Linked DNA regions of Homo sapiens: region 2 is linked to region 1. The links are contacts of gene promoters, found by promoter capture Hi-C in human tissues and cell types (Jung and others, 2019). All regions are on one chromosome and are shown on one strand. The core of a region is centred on a gene start or on the middle of the fragment in contact, and the rest is flanking DNA. Distances in the headings are between cores, read along the strand shown. Region 1 holds the start of TUBGCP6 (tubulin gamma complex component 6). Region 2 overlaps MOV10L1 (Mov10 like RNA helicase 1).

Evidence for each region. The method cuts DNA at HindIII sites, captures the fragments that hold promoters and counts their contacts. A contact is called where the count stands out against the background at its distance.
Region 2: a contact is called between a fragment that was not itself captured here and the fragment with the promoter of TUBGCP6 in region 1, in 1 of the 25 tissues and cell types used here (lymphoblastoid cells).

Annotation. Positions count from the first base shown.
Region 1 is chr22:50,239,962-50,247,095 of GRCh38, reverse strand. TUBGCP6 (tubulin gamma complex component 6) reads left to right here and starts at 2,073. Exons shown (of 25, transcript NM_020461.4): 1 at 2,073-3,377; 2 at 6,729-6,892. The coding sequence starts at 2,637. HDAC10 (histone deacetylase 10) reads left to right here. Exons shown (of 20, transcript NM_032019.6): 15 at 130-221; 16 at 361-417; 17 at 720-798; 18 at 1,004-1,186; 19 at 1,269-1,421; 20 at 1,566-1,913. The coding sequence ends at 1,589. RefSeq lists a silencer at 1,701-1,770 and enhancers at 2,241-2,290, 2,701-2,980, 2,554-3,484, 5,392-5,691. The HindIII fragment of the contact is 41,268 bases long and covers 1-7,134 here.
Region 2 is chr22:50,096,178-50,103,311 of GRCh38, reverse strand. MOV10L1 (Mov10 like RNA helicase 1) reads right to left here. Exons shown (of 27, transcript NM_018995.3): 3 at 3,710-3,869. Among named protein-coding and RNA genes, the nearest start is that of MOV10L1, 9.7 kb to the right of the region's middle. The HindIII fragment of the contact is 9,728 bases long and covers 1-7,134 here.

The DNA of each region.
Region 1 (7,134 bases), core at 824-3,323:
CCTTAGTGTAAGAAGATGTGTGGCTGACAGTAGCCGCAGAGACACACCGAATGAAGGGAACTGTGGATCTGTTTACCTGGCTTGGGAGTTGGTTGGTGCCTCATTCTCCACTGTTTATTCATCCCACAGGTGAACAGTGGTATAGCAGCCACTCCAGCCTCTGCTGCAGCAGCCACCCTGGATGTGGCTGTTCGGAGAGGCCTGTCCCACGGAGCCCAGAGGTAAGCCTCACTTGGCCATCCTGAGCCTCTGACGGCAGGACCTGTGGGCACCCCTATCCTGGCTGGCCAAGCACAGAGAGTTCTGGGAATGGACTCTGGACAACATGAACACCTGTCCTGAGGCCAGCTCTTCTTCCAGGCTGCTGTGCGTGGCCCTGGGACAGCTGGACCGGCCTCCAGACCTCGCCCATGACGGGTAGGACTCTCAGGTCTTGCATATGTCCAGCCATGCATGTGGACGGGCATGTGATGGACGTGTGCCTGGGCCCCAGGGTGACGGGTGGGTGGGGCACTGTGTGGTACTGAATGGAGCCTTCCTCAGCTGGGGTGTGGGAGAAGGGCTGCTGGAGGCAATGCCAGGTGGGTCTCCAGCACAGAGGCTCAGCAGTCACAGCACCCCTGCCCATGGCCCCGTGAATGCTCTTCCACCTCTGCCTCTGCGGTTTGGGCTCAGGAGGGTGAGCAGGGCCTTACACTTATGCACCTGTGTCCTGGAAGGAGGAGTCTGTGGCTGAACATCAGGGGCAAGGAGGCGGCTGCCCTATCCATGTTCCATGTCTCCACGCCACTGCCAGTGGTGAGTGACCATGCCACGCGGCAAGGCAGGTGCTGGGGAGCCCATGGATGTGTACAGCTGCTGTTTGCTGGCATTGTCATGATAGCAGGCCTCTGGTCCTTCCTGTCTCCCTGCTCCTACTCCAGGGGCCCTGAGATTGGGAGGTTGGGAGGCCAGAGCCAGCAGGTGTCCGTAGATGAGGAGCTGGGCTCTGCTGTCCCCACAGATGACCGGTGGTTTCCTGAGCTGCATCTTGGGCTTGGTGCTGCCCCTGGCCTATGGCTTCCAGCCTGACCTGGTGCTGGTGGCGCTGGGGCCTGGCCATGGCCTGCAGGGCCCCCACGCTGCACTCCTGGCTGCAATGCTTCGGGGGCTGGCAGGGGGCCGAGTCCTGGCCCTCCTGGAGGAGGTAAGCTGGGCAGGGTGGAGGTGCTGCGGGGTGGGACGAGGGAAAGGACCAGTGACTGCTTCCGTCTTCGCCCCTGGTCCAGAACTCCACACCCCAGCTAGCAGGGATCCTGGCCCGGGTGCTGAATGGAGAGGCACCTCCTAGCCTAGGCCCTTCCTCTGTGGCCTCCCCAGAGGACGTCCAGGCCCTGATGTACCTGAGAGGGCAGCTGGAGCCTCAGTGGAAGATGTTGCAGGTGAGGCTGACTGCGGAGGCATGGCCCTGCCCTGGGGCCTGGCTCTGCCGCACAGATCGGTGGGGAGGGCAGGGCAGGGGAGTGCCCTGAACCAGCTCCAGCGCCGGAGGCCAACTGCGCGCCTCTTCTCGGCTCCTCCTGTAGTGCCATCCTCACCTGGTGGCTTGAAATCGGCCAAGGTGGGAGCATTTACACCGCAGAAATGACACCGCACGCCAGCGCCCCGCGGCCGCGATCCGGACCCCAAGCCCACGGCTCCCTCGACTCTGGGGCACGGAACCCCGCCCACTCCCAATCCCCGCGCCCCGCCCTCTCCCACCCGTGCTTCCCCCGCTCCACCCCTCACCTCACCTCGCCCCCGCCCCACCCATCGCGCCCCGGCCCGTCCCATCGAGGCCCATGCAACCCACGCTCGGTCCCGTTCCGGCCCCTGCGCCCCGCTGCGCTTCGCTCCCCGCCCTTGCGCCGTTAGTAAACATCGCTCAAACGAAACGCTGGCTCTGCCTCCTTTACTGAGCACGCTCGGCCTCGGTCTCTCACCCGCGGTGCCGGACTCAGGCCGGAAGTATGCCGCGGCCCAGGCCTCACCAACTTCACGCGCTGCCGGCGTTCCCGTGACGTATTTCCGGCGCGCCCGCCCTAGTGCTCTTCACACTGGCGCGGCTGTGACGCGACGGAGGCGGCGAGAGCGGCAGCCGTGGGCACTTTCCACGGGTGAGGCCTGGAGAACGGGTGGACGTGCAGGCCAGAACCCGGGACCCACCCGGCTGAGCCCCCAGACTCTCCGCTGCCCACGACCCTCGGAGTGGCACCCTCTCCTGGCCGTCTCCTCTCGTGGGTCCCGAAGAACGGGTGCAAAGCCGAGTTCGTCCGCTGTACTGCGCGGGCGCGCGTTTCGTTCTTCGGTTTTGCCACGGTTCTGTGACTCCCTAAAGGTTGAGGGCTACTGAATTAGAAGAAACGCCGAGCTGGCTTCTGGTGGGCTGCCGGGCGCCGGGCAGCGTGCTTGGACTGGGGAGGGCAGGGCGTGTTTACTCTGAGTAGAGCAACCGCAAGACCTCCTTTAAAAAATACCAGTTCTGAGCTTCGGCATTGGAGAGGCCGCCTGTCATTCAGCCTCTTCGGACCCTCTCTCACTCCCTGTCTTCCGGAGCGTGAGTGAAGCCCGGGTGAGGTGTTTTCCCACACGCCGGGGGCCCGGAGCTGAGAAGGGGCATGGCCAGCATCACGCAGCTGTTCGACGACCTGTGTGAGGCCCTCCTGCCGGCTGCCAAGACTCACCTGGGCCAGCGCAGTGTGAACCGGAAGAGGGCAAAGCGGAGCCTCAAGAAGGTGGCCTACAATGCTCTTTTCACAAATCTTTTTCAAGATGAGACTCAACAGCTGCAGCCTGACATGTCAAAACTACCAGCGAGAAACAAGATCCTCATGTTGTCCTTTGACTTGAGAGTGGGTGGCCTGGGCCCCAAGGCCGACCGTTTGGAGGAGCTTGTGGAGGAGCTGGAAGCAGCCCCTTGCTGTCCGCTTTTGGAGGTGGGGTCTGTTTTGGACCTCCTGGTTCAGCTGGCAGGGAGTGGTCCCCCTCAAGTTCTGCCGAGAAAACGAGACTACTTCCTTAACAACAAGCATGTGGGGAGAAACGTTCCGTACAGCGGCTATGATTGCGACGACCTGAGTGTGTTTGAGATGGACGTTCAGTCTCTGATCTCCAGAGAAGAGTGTTTGTGTCACAGCATGATCCAGGAAACACTTCAGGTTATGGAGGCTGCTCCAGGCACTGGCCTGCCCACCGTCGGGCTCTTCTCATTTGGTGACCCTTGTGGTGACAGGTTCGAGAGAGACACCCGGGTCTCGCTCTTCGGGGCCCTTGTGCACAGCCGCACTTATGACATGGACGTCCGACTGGGCCTGCCCCCCGTGCCAGACAATGCGGACCTCTCTGGGCTGGCTATTAAGGTAGAATGTTTAGTTTTTCCTCTTTCATCTCTCTCGGGGTTTGGAAAATGCTTCCTGTGACCTTTCTTCTTCTTCTTCTTCTTCTTTTTTTTTTTTTTTTTGAGACAGTGTCTCACTCTGTCACCCAGGCTGGAGTGCAGTGGCGCGATCTTGGCTCACCTTAACCTCCACTTTCTGGGCTCAAGCAATTCTCGTACCTCAGCCTCCCGAGTAGCTGAAATTACAGGCACCTGCCACCACGCCCGGCTTAATTTTTTTTTTTTTTTGAGATGGAGTCTTGCTCTGTTGCCCAGGCTGGAGTGCCGTGGCGCGATCTCGGCTCACTGTAACCGCCGCCTCCCGGGGTCAAGTGATTCTCCTACCTCAGCCTCCCGAGTAGCTGTAGCTGGGATTTAGGTGCATGCCACCACGCCCAGCTAAGTTTTGTATTTTTAGTAGAGATGGGGTTTCACCATGCTGGCTAGGCTGGTCTTGAACTCCTGACCTCTTGATCCGCCTGCCTCGGCCTCCCAAAGTGCTGGGATTACAGGCGTGAGCCACCATGCCCAACTAATTTTTGTATTTTTAGTAGAGGCGGGGTTTCACCATGTTGGCCAGGCTGGTCTCCAACTCCTGACCTCAAATGATCCACCCGTCTCGGCCTCCCAAAGTGCTGGGATTACAGGCATGAGCCACTGTGCCCGGCCCGGTGACCTTCCTTTTATCATGGTAAAAGGGGGGATAGTCTGGTGGCTGCATTGTCCTGAGGTGGGGCTGCTGGAGTGGGCTTACTGGCGGCCACCCTCCTCTGCAGCGACAGTGCTGCCCACCTGCCGGCCAAAGCAACATGCTGCTTTTCATCTTTACCTAATGGGGTATATCGTTAAGCCACCTCTGCCTTCTAGAGCTGCCGTTTAAATTGAAGTTAATTAAAACAAAATAAAATACTCAGTTCCTCAGCCCCACAAGCCACATTTCAAGTGCTCAGTAGCCACGTGTGGCAAAAGTGTTCATGTTCTGTAATTCGTGCAATTGGATATGTTTTTGCTGTCTGTCGCCTGAGGCTTTACCATGGTACGCTGTAGCTCCTCATTTGAGTTTTGTATTTTATTGCTTTATCAGTGTTGCCAAAAGGATACATTGTTACTAGTCGTTCTATTCTTATGCGATAGCTAGATGATTTAGAAACATACATAATGCTACAGCAAATGTCTTGGTGTACAGCAGTTTTGTTTTTTGTTTTTGAGACAAGTCTTGCTCTGTCGCCCAGGCTGGAGTGCAGTGGTGTGGTCTCGGCTCACTGCAACCTCCATCTCCTGGGTTCAAGCGATTCTCCTGCCTCAGCCTCCTAAGTATCTGGGACTACAGGTGTGCGTCACCACACACAGCTAATTTTTGTATTTTATATGTTTGTATTTTTATTTTTTTATTTTATTTGATTTTTTTTTTTGACACAGTCTCGCTCTGTCGCCCAGGCTCGAGTGCGGTGGCACAATCTTGGCTCACTGCAAGCTCTGCCTCCCAGGTTCACGCCATTCTCCCGCCTCAGCCTCCTGAGTAGCTGGGACTACAGGTGCCTGCCACCACGCCCTGCGAATTTTTTGTATATTTAGTAGAGACGGGGTTTCACCGTGTTAGCCAGGATGGTCTCTATCTCCTCACCTCGTGATCTGCCCGCCTCGGCCTCCCAAAGTGCTGGGATTACAGGCGTGAGCCCGGCCTGATTGTTCTTTTTTTTTTTTTTTTTTTTTTTTTTGAGATGGAGTCTTGTGTAGGGACCAGCCCTACAGGGTCTGTGGGTTTTTCTCTCCATATGCGGAGACCAGAGATGGTAGAAATAAAGACACAAGACAGAGATAGAAGAAAAAACAGCTGGGCCCGGGGGATCACTACCACCAACACGTGGAGACCAGTAGTGGCCCCAAATGCCAGGCTGCGCTGTTATTTATTGGATACAAGGCAAAAGGGGCAGGGTAAGGAGTGTGAGTCATCTCCAATGATAGGTAAGGTCACGTGGGTCACGTGTCAACTGGACAGGGGGCCCTTCCCTGTTTGGCAGCCGAAGCAGAGAGAGAGGAGACAGCTTACACCATTATTTCTGCATTTCAGAGACTTTTAGTACTTTCACTAATTTGCTACTGCTATCTAGAAGGCAGAGCCAGGTGTACAGGATGGAACATGAAAGTGGACTAGGAGTGTGACTGCTGAAGCACAGCATCACAGGGAGACGTTTAGGCCTCTGGATAACTGCGGGTGGGCCTGAGTCATGTCAGGCCCTCCACAAGAGGTGGTGGAGCAGAGTCTTCTCTAACTCCCCCAGGGAAAGGGAGACTCCCTTTCCTGGTCTGCTAAGTAGTGGGTGCTTTTCCTAGGCACTGACGCTACCGCTAGACCAAGGTCCGCTAGGTAATGGGCGTCTTCCCAGGTGCTGCCATTACCACTAGACTAAGGAGCCCTCTAGTGGCCCTGTCTGGGCATGACAGAAGGCTCACACTCTTGTCTTCTGGTCACTTCTCACCTTGCCCCTTCAGCTCCTGTCTCTGTATGGCCTGGTTTCTCGTAAGTTACAATTGTAGAGCGAAGATTATTATAATCTTGGAATAAAGAGCAATTGCTACAAACTAATGATTAATAACGTTCATATATAATCATATTTATGATCTATAGTGTAACTATTCTTGTTCTATATATTTTATTGTACTAGAACAGCTCGTGCCCTCGGTCTCTTGCCTCGGCACCTGGGTGGCTTGCTGCCCACAGTCTTGCTCTGTCGCCCAGACTGGAGTGTGGTGGCGCAATCTCGGCTCACTGCAACCTCCGCTTCCCGGGTTCAAGCAATTCTTCTGCCTCAGCCTCCCGAGTAGCTGGGACCACAGGTGCCCACCACCACGCCTGGCCGATTTTTATATTTTTAGTAGAGACGGGGTTTCACATGCTGGCCAGGCTGGTCTCAAACTCCTGACCTCAGGTGATCCACCTGCCTCAGCCTCCCATAGTGCTGGGATTACAGGCGTGAGCCACTGCGCCTGGCCCCGGTGTACAGTAGTGTTTTAATGTTGAGTGTGATTTTTTTAATTCTGGGTTCCCCACATTGGAATTTCCAGGTCTGAGGCATCTCAAAAAGTTTCACTCTAAGTTCCACTGAGGCTTATGTGTTACATGGAATTGGAAATTGGCAGCCTTGACGACTTATTTTGTTTAATTCCTTAAATGGCTCATTGGTGGGAAACATTGTATGGTACACATGCGCTTGAGAAAAACAGAAGAAACATTTTGTTAGGTCTTTGCATAAAGTTCCTGAAATTCTCATCGCCCTTGGATGAAACGTGGACACAGCAATAAGTGGCGGTTTGCCCTTCCCTGTGTCTCCAGGTCCCACCGAGTGTGGATCAGTGGGAAGACGAAGGATTCCAGTCAGCGTCCAACTTGACTCCTGATTCCCAGTCTGAGCCCAGCGTGACCCCAGACGTGGACCTGTGGGAAGCCGCACTTACCTATGAGGCCAGCAAGCGGAGGTGCTGGGAGCGAGTTGGCTGGTGTGTGCCCTTCTTTGCCTTGGCATGCAGTGCCCCTACCCCTGCATGAGCGTGGCCTTGGATGGGGTGTGTGGGGGGCGTTGTGTACTCAGGGGTCCAGGCAGTTGTGATGGGTTAGTAACCTAAGCTAGTGTCCAAAATTGACTGAGTCCTGGGAGTTAAGAGAGATGCAGAGGGGAAAGCACTAACAGCCTTTAAGGAGGCCTCACCTCCCCATCCAGTAACCAGATCACACCTGTCGG
Region 2 (7,134 bases), core at 3,364-5,863, 150 kb after region 1:
AGAATTCCCATCTCACATGTGTTGTCTACAAACCTCAGGAGCAGGCCAGGGCTGGGGGACAGTGCTGTTCAAACATGCACAAGCACGGTCTCTTCCTCCAGTCACGTGCCCCAGCACGCTGTCCACATTTGCTCCCTCCCACGCTACAACCACGTGTTCCCCTCTGCTGCCCTCGTGTGTCAGACCTCACCTAGGTAACCTCAGAGGGTTGTGTTTAGGACAGAACCTGACCCAGGCCGGCTGGCATTACCTGGACCCTCCTCCCGCCACACCTGTGACCCGCTCAGCTCTGCCCTAGCCTCAAGGCTACACGCAGGAAGGAACTCCAAACCACCCACTCTAGTCCTCTGACACGACCCTGGACAGTTGCTGCAGAGCAGAAGATGTTAATTACTTTTTCTTTTTTTTTTTGAGAAGGAGTTTTGCTCTGTCGCCCAGGCTGGAGTGCAGTGGTGTGATCTTGGCTCACCGCAACCTCTGCCTCCCAGGTTCAAGCGATTCTCCTGCCTTAGCCTCCAGAGTAGCTGGGATTACAGGCATGCACCACCACGCCCAGCTAATTTTGTATTTTTAGTAGAGACGGGGTTTCTCCATGTTGGTCAGGCTGGTCTCCAACTCCCAACCTCAGGTGATCCGCCCGCCTCAGCCTCCCAAAGTGCTGGGATGACAGGTGTGAGCCACTGTGCCAGGCCTGATGCTAATTATTTTCTTTGTTCACTTGCTTACTGTCTGTTCTCTCAAAATGCGAATTCTCTGAAGCAGTGTCTAGCACAGCAAGCACTCTAATAATTTGTTGAATTAACGTCAAGAAGGAAACAGCATCTTCTGACTCTCCCACAAGCAAATGAAAAATTTAGCATAATTCTTCCTTTTGCCACCTTTAGGTCAGAAGTTATAAATAAAGTTTTATGAGGACACAGCCGCACCTTTTGCTCATGTACAGCTATGTCTGCTTTCAGCTACGTGGTACGACCATCCTGTGGGGAGGAGCTTTGAAGGAGACGGTGCTTGACCGGTTTGCTGATCTCATTAGATACTCTGTATCAGCCTTTTTGCACATTGTATTTTCTCTTTCAAAAAAGTTCTTTTGCTGTGGTCCTTAGGTTTTGTGATTGTGTTCACAGCAATTCTGACATGTCTGAGTGTGACTCTCTCAGCCTCAAGAGGACCTGACTTTGCCTCACTTGAGGTTTTTTATACTGGGAAATCCCTTGGCCTGGGCTCCGGATCCCTGCCCATCTTTATTACTCAGGGGACACCTTCTCTTCTCTGCCCCATCAACATCTGCAACATCAAACATTTCTGGTTTTCTTCCTCTTGAGCCATTTCCTGGCGACACCCCTGAGAGGGGCTTCCTGTTAGCAGGGTTGAGGGGCCTCCATGATTATAGGCGCCTTTCCCCAGAACTGAGCGTTTCTCTGGCAGCACAGAGATTCTAAAATCCCAATAGACACCTATCAATTTCATCTTGGGGATCCCAGGGTTAACAACCAAGGTCAAGGCTGGGCACAGTGGTTCATGCCTATAATCCCAGCACTTTGGGAGGCCGAGGTGGGTGAATCACCTGAGGTCAAGAGTTCGAGACCAGCCTGACCAACATGGCGAAACCCCGTGTCTACTAAAAATACAAAAATTAGCCAGGTGTGGTGGCACACAGCTGTAGTCCCAGCTACTCAGGAAGCTGAGGCAAGAGAATTGCTTGAATCCAGGAGGTGGAGGTTACAGTGAGCCACCACTGCACTCGAGCCTGGGCAACAAGAGCGAAACTCTGTCTCAAACAAAGAAAAAAAAAACAAAACCCACAAAAGGTCAGGCGCAGTGGCTCATGCCTGTAATCCCAGCACTTTGGCAGGTGGATCACAAGGTCAGGAGATCGAGACCATCCTGGCTAACACATTGAAACCCCGTCTCTACTAAAAATACAAAAAATTAGCCAGGTGTGGTGGCGGGCACCTGTAGTCCCAGCTATTCAGGAGGCTGAGGCAGGAGAATGGCATGAACCTGGAAGGCGGAGCTTGAAGTAAGCCAAGATTGTGCTACTGTACTCCAGCCTGGGAAACAGAGGAAGATTCCGTCTCAAAACAAAAACAAAAACACACATACACATAAAAACCAAGGTGAAAAAGAGTGAGACAGCAGCTTCCTGGTGGGCAGAGCTACCCCCCAGACCTCCCACCCCCCAGCTTAAAGCAGAAAACTTCTATTCATCTTCCAACAGGCAGTGCTGTGGGCTGTGCAAATGGACTTCAGCTCAGAAGCCACTTCCCCAGGCAGCTTTTCCAATTCCTGCCCTACCACAATGTATGCACAGGTCTGTTTCTCCTGGGAAAGAAGAAACAGACCTGAGTATGGAGTCCAGCTCCGTCTTCACCACCATAGGCAGCAGGAGTAGAGTAAACCGCTGCTGAGTTCAGCTCAGTCAATGACATCGACATATTCTTTCTTTAGGTATAAAAACAAATCCTTTGATCAGCCAAAAACAAATGCAATAAAAAATGGATATATAAAGCCGGGAGTGGTGGCTCACGCCTGTAATCCCAGCACTTTGGGAGGCCAAGGCGGGCAGATCACAAGGTCAGGAGTTCAAGACCAGACTGGCCAACATGGTGAAACCCTGTCTCTACTAAAGACACAAAAAGTTAGCCTGCTGTGGTGGTGGGCACCTGTAGTCTCAGGAGGCTGAGGCAGGAGAATCGCCTGAACCCAGGAGGCGGAGGTTGCAGTAAGCTGAGATCGTGCCACTGCACTCCAGCCTGGGCGACAGGGTGAGACTCCATCTCAAAAAAAAGAAAGAAAGAAAGAAAGAAAAAGGATATATACTTTAGGAAACGTACAATGTCATCCCCAAGCCCTATTTTAAAACATCTAAAGTACTTTAAATAGTACCTCAGCATGCCAGTAACACTAACTTAGATCATAACACTATAATTATATGGAAGCAACAACTACCCAGAAATTACTGACTGCATTTAACAAATGAACACAAAACACATAAAAGCACAAGTTTAAACAGTGACCTGGCTGGGTGTGGTGGCTCATGCCTGTAATCCCAGCACTTTAGGAGGCCGAGGCAGGTGGATCACCTAAGGTCAAGAGTTCGAGACCAGCCCGGCCAACCTGATGAAACCCCATCTTTACTAAAAATACAAAAAATTAGCTGGGCATGGTGGTGCACACCTGTAATCCCAGCTACTCAGGAGGCTGAGGCAGGAGAATCAATCAAACCCAGGAAGCAGAGGTTGCAGTGAGCTGAGATCATACCACTGCACTCCAGCCTGGGCAACAGAGTGAGACTCCATCTCGAAAAACAAAAACAAAAACAAAAACAAAAAAAACAAAACAGTGACCTGGTGCCCTCTCCCATAGTCCACTCAATATCCAAGAGCCTCTGTGTGAAGCCAGCACCTGGAGAAGCTACTCTAATCCCGAAACCCTCTCAACAAACAAAGCATGCCCAAAACTGATCCCTTCAATGTTGTGTGTAGCCATCACAAATATAGACACAGGGTTGTGTTCTGTCACCCAGGCTGGAGTGTAGTGGCTGGATCATAGCTCACTGCAGCCTCCAACTCCTGGGCTCAAGCGATCCTCCTGTCTCAGCCTGACAAAGTGCTGGGATTATAGGCATGAGCCACCGTGCCTGGTCCATAACAATTCTTTAAAAGACAAAACCTAATTTTCAATGTGGAACACAGACCCCTGAGCATACCTTCGCACACACTCTCCAGAGAGAAGTAGGTGGTCTGACTGATACAGCCTGCGCCCTCCACCAGGGAAGTCACACAGCCAATCAACACTCGGGGGCCGCAGTCTGAGGGACTCCCATGGTTTCTGCTGTCGTCTTCCCACTTATCAGAGACAGCTTCTACCTGTAAAACAAACACACCGCTCTAAACCATAATACGAGAACTACAAGAAAAGCAAACTACAGGCTGGCATGCCTGTCTGAGACCATTAGGGCTGCAAGTCCAAGATCAAGGCCCTGGCAGATTCCGGGTCTGGTGAGGGCCTTCTTCCTGGTATACCGTCGGTGTCTTCCTGCTGTGTCCTCACATGGCAGAAAGGGCAAAGGGGTTCTCTGGGGTATGTTTCATAAGGGCTCTGCCCTTGTGACCCAGTCACCCACCAAAGCCTCCTAATAAGATTCCACTGGGGTCAGGATTTCAACATACGTATTTTGGGGGACACCAACATTGAGTCTATAGCAATCCCTTATGAACACTGATGCAAAAATCCTCAATGAAATATTATCAAACCAAATGCAGCAGCATATTAAAAGGATTATACCCCATGACTAAGTGGGGTTTATCCCAGAATGCAAAAGTGTTTCAACATATGAAAATCAGTCAACATATTACATTGATAAGATGAGGGAAAAAATCACGATGATCTCAACTGATGCACAAAAAGCATTTGACAAAATCAACACTTTTTATGATGCAAACACTCAATAAACTAGGAATCGCAGGAAATCTCTTCAACACGAGAAAGGCCATAAACAAAAATCTCACAACAAACACCACACTCAATGGTGAAAGGCCGAAAGCTTTCCCCTAAGATCAGGAACCAGGCAAGGATGCCCATGCTTACTTCAAGACTTTCAAATTTCAATTATCTTTATTCACAGATGGTAGGATCTCATCTGTGGAAAACTCTAAAGATTCCACACACGTAAATGAAACAAAAAATGGTTAGAGCTAATAAATGAATCCAGCACAGGACACAAAGTCAACATACAAAAATCAGATTTCCATACATTTGCAATGAAAAATCCAAAAAGGAAATCAAGAAAAATGATCCAAAGAAAGGGAAAACAATTCCATTTATAACAGCACTGTTAGGTTAATAGGTTAATTCCTCAGAACACTTAGTAACCTAACTAAGGAGATGGAAGACACGTAAAATGACACTAATGAATGAATTAAATACCTCAATAAACAGCAAGACAACCGCGTTCATGAATTGGAAAACCTAATATTATTAAAATGACAATCTTAAGACTTAATTATTAAGATGATAATACTACTCAAAGTGATTATGTGATTATTAAGATGTTAATCTTAATAATTATTATTAAGATGTTAATCTTAATACTTAATTATTATTAAGATGACAATCTTAGACTTAATTATTAAGATGACAATACTACCCAAAGTGATCTATTACACAAATTCAGGTTGGGTGTGGTAGCTCATGCCTGTAATTCCAGCACTTTGGGAGGTTGAGGCAGGTGGATCACTTGAGGTCAGGAGTTCAAGACCAGCCTGGTCAACATGGTGAAACCCCATCTCTACTAAAAATACAAAAAAAATTAGCTGGGTGTAGTGGCAAGCACCTGCAGTCCCAGCTACTTGGGAGGCTGAGGCATGAGAATTGCTTGAACCAGGGAGGCGGAGGTTGCAATGAGTCAATATCACATCATTGCACTCCATCCTGGGTGACAGAGCAAGACTCTGTCTCAAACAAACAACAAAAAAACCCAACAAATGCAACGCAATCCCTATCAAAGTCCTATGGGTCTATTTTTATATAAATAGAAAAACTCATCTAAAATTCTAATGGAATCTCAAGGGACCATGAATAGGCAAAATGGTCTTGAAAAGGAGTAACAAAATTGAAGGTTTCATACCTCCTGATTTCAAAACTTCCTACAAAGTTACAGTCATCAAACTAGTGTGGCACCAGTGTAAGGACAGAAATATAAACCAATGGAATAGTAAAGAGACCCAGAAATAAACCCTTGCATGTGCAGTCAATTGATTTTTGACAAGGACCATTCAATAAACTGCAATTGTGCAGTCTCAAAAAAAAATAGTGCTGGGAAAATAACCATGGGCAAAATAATAAAGTTAGACTCTCGTTTTACACCAAACACAAAAATTAACTCAAAATGGATTAAAGAGGCCAGGCGTGGTGGCTTACCCCTATAATCTCAGCATTTGGAAAGGCGTGGGATGGGCGGATCACTTGAGCCCAGGAGTTCGAGACCAGCCTGGGCAACATAGAGAGGCCCCATCTCTACAAAAAATACAAAAATTGGGTGAGGCAGCACACACCTGTAGTCCCAGCTGCTCAGGTGGCTAAGGTGGAAGGATCACTTCAGCCTGGGAGGTTGAGGCTGCAGTGAGCTGTGACTGTGCTGCTGCACTCCAGCCTGGGCAACAAAGTGAGATCCTGTCTCAAAAAATTTTTTTTAATGAATCAAAGACTTTAATTTAAAAGCAAAAACTATAAAACTCTTGGTAGAAAAAAATCTTCATAATCTTGGATTAGTCAATGGTATCTTGAGTGTGACATCAGAAGTACATGCAATAAAAGAGACAAATTAGACTTCCACCAAAATTTAAAACATCTGTGCATCAAAGGATACCATGAAGAAAGTGAAAAGACAATTGATAAAATGAGAGAAAGTATTTGCAAATCATGTATGTGATGAGAGATTAATATCCAGAATATATAAAGAATTCCTACTACAAGAAAACAACCTAATTTCAAAACGGGCAAAGGATTTGAGTAGATATTTCTCCAAAGAAGATATATAGATGGCCAATAAGCACATGAAAAGATGCCCTCACAAATCATTAGGGAAATGCAAATCAAAACCACAGTGAGATACTACCTCACAACTACGAGGAATAGCTACTGTCAAAAGAAAAAAAAAGAAAAAGAAAATAGCAAGTGTTGGCAAGGATACAGAAAAAGTGGCAGCCTCATGCACTGTTGGTGGGAACATATAACGGTGCAGCTGCTGTGGAAAACATCTGGTTCCTCACAAAGTTAAACCTAGACTTACCATACAGCCCAGCAATTCTCTTCCTAGGCGTAGCCCCAAAAGAACTGAACAAGGACTCAGACAGACTTGTTCATGGCAGCACAATTCACAACAACCAAAAAGTAGAAACAACCCAAGTGTCCATCAACAGATGAATGGAGAAACAAAATGTGATTTATTCACACAATGGAATATTCAGCCATAAAAAAGGAATTAACTTTTGATACATGCTACATGGGCAAATCTTGAAAACAGAAGTCAAATAGCCAGACACATGATTCCGCTTATATGAGGTATTTAGAATGGGCAAATTCATAGAGACATAAAGTAGAACACTGAATAACTGTTTAATGGGTACAGAG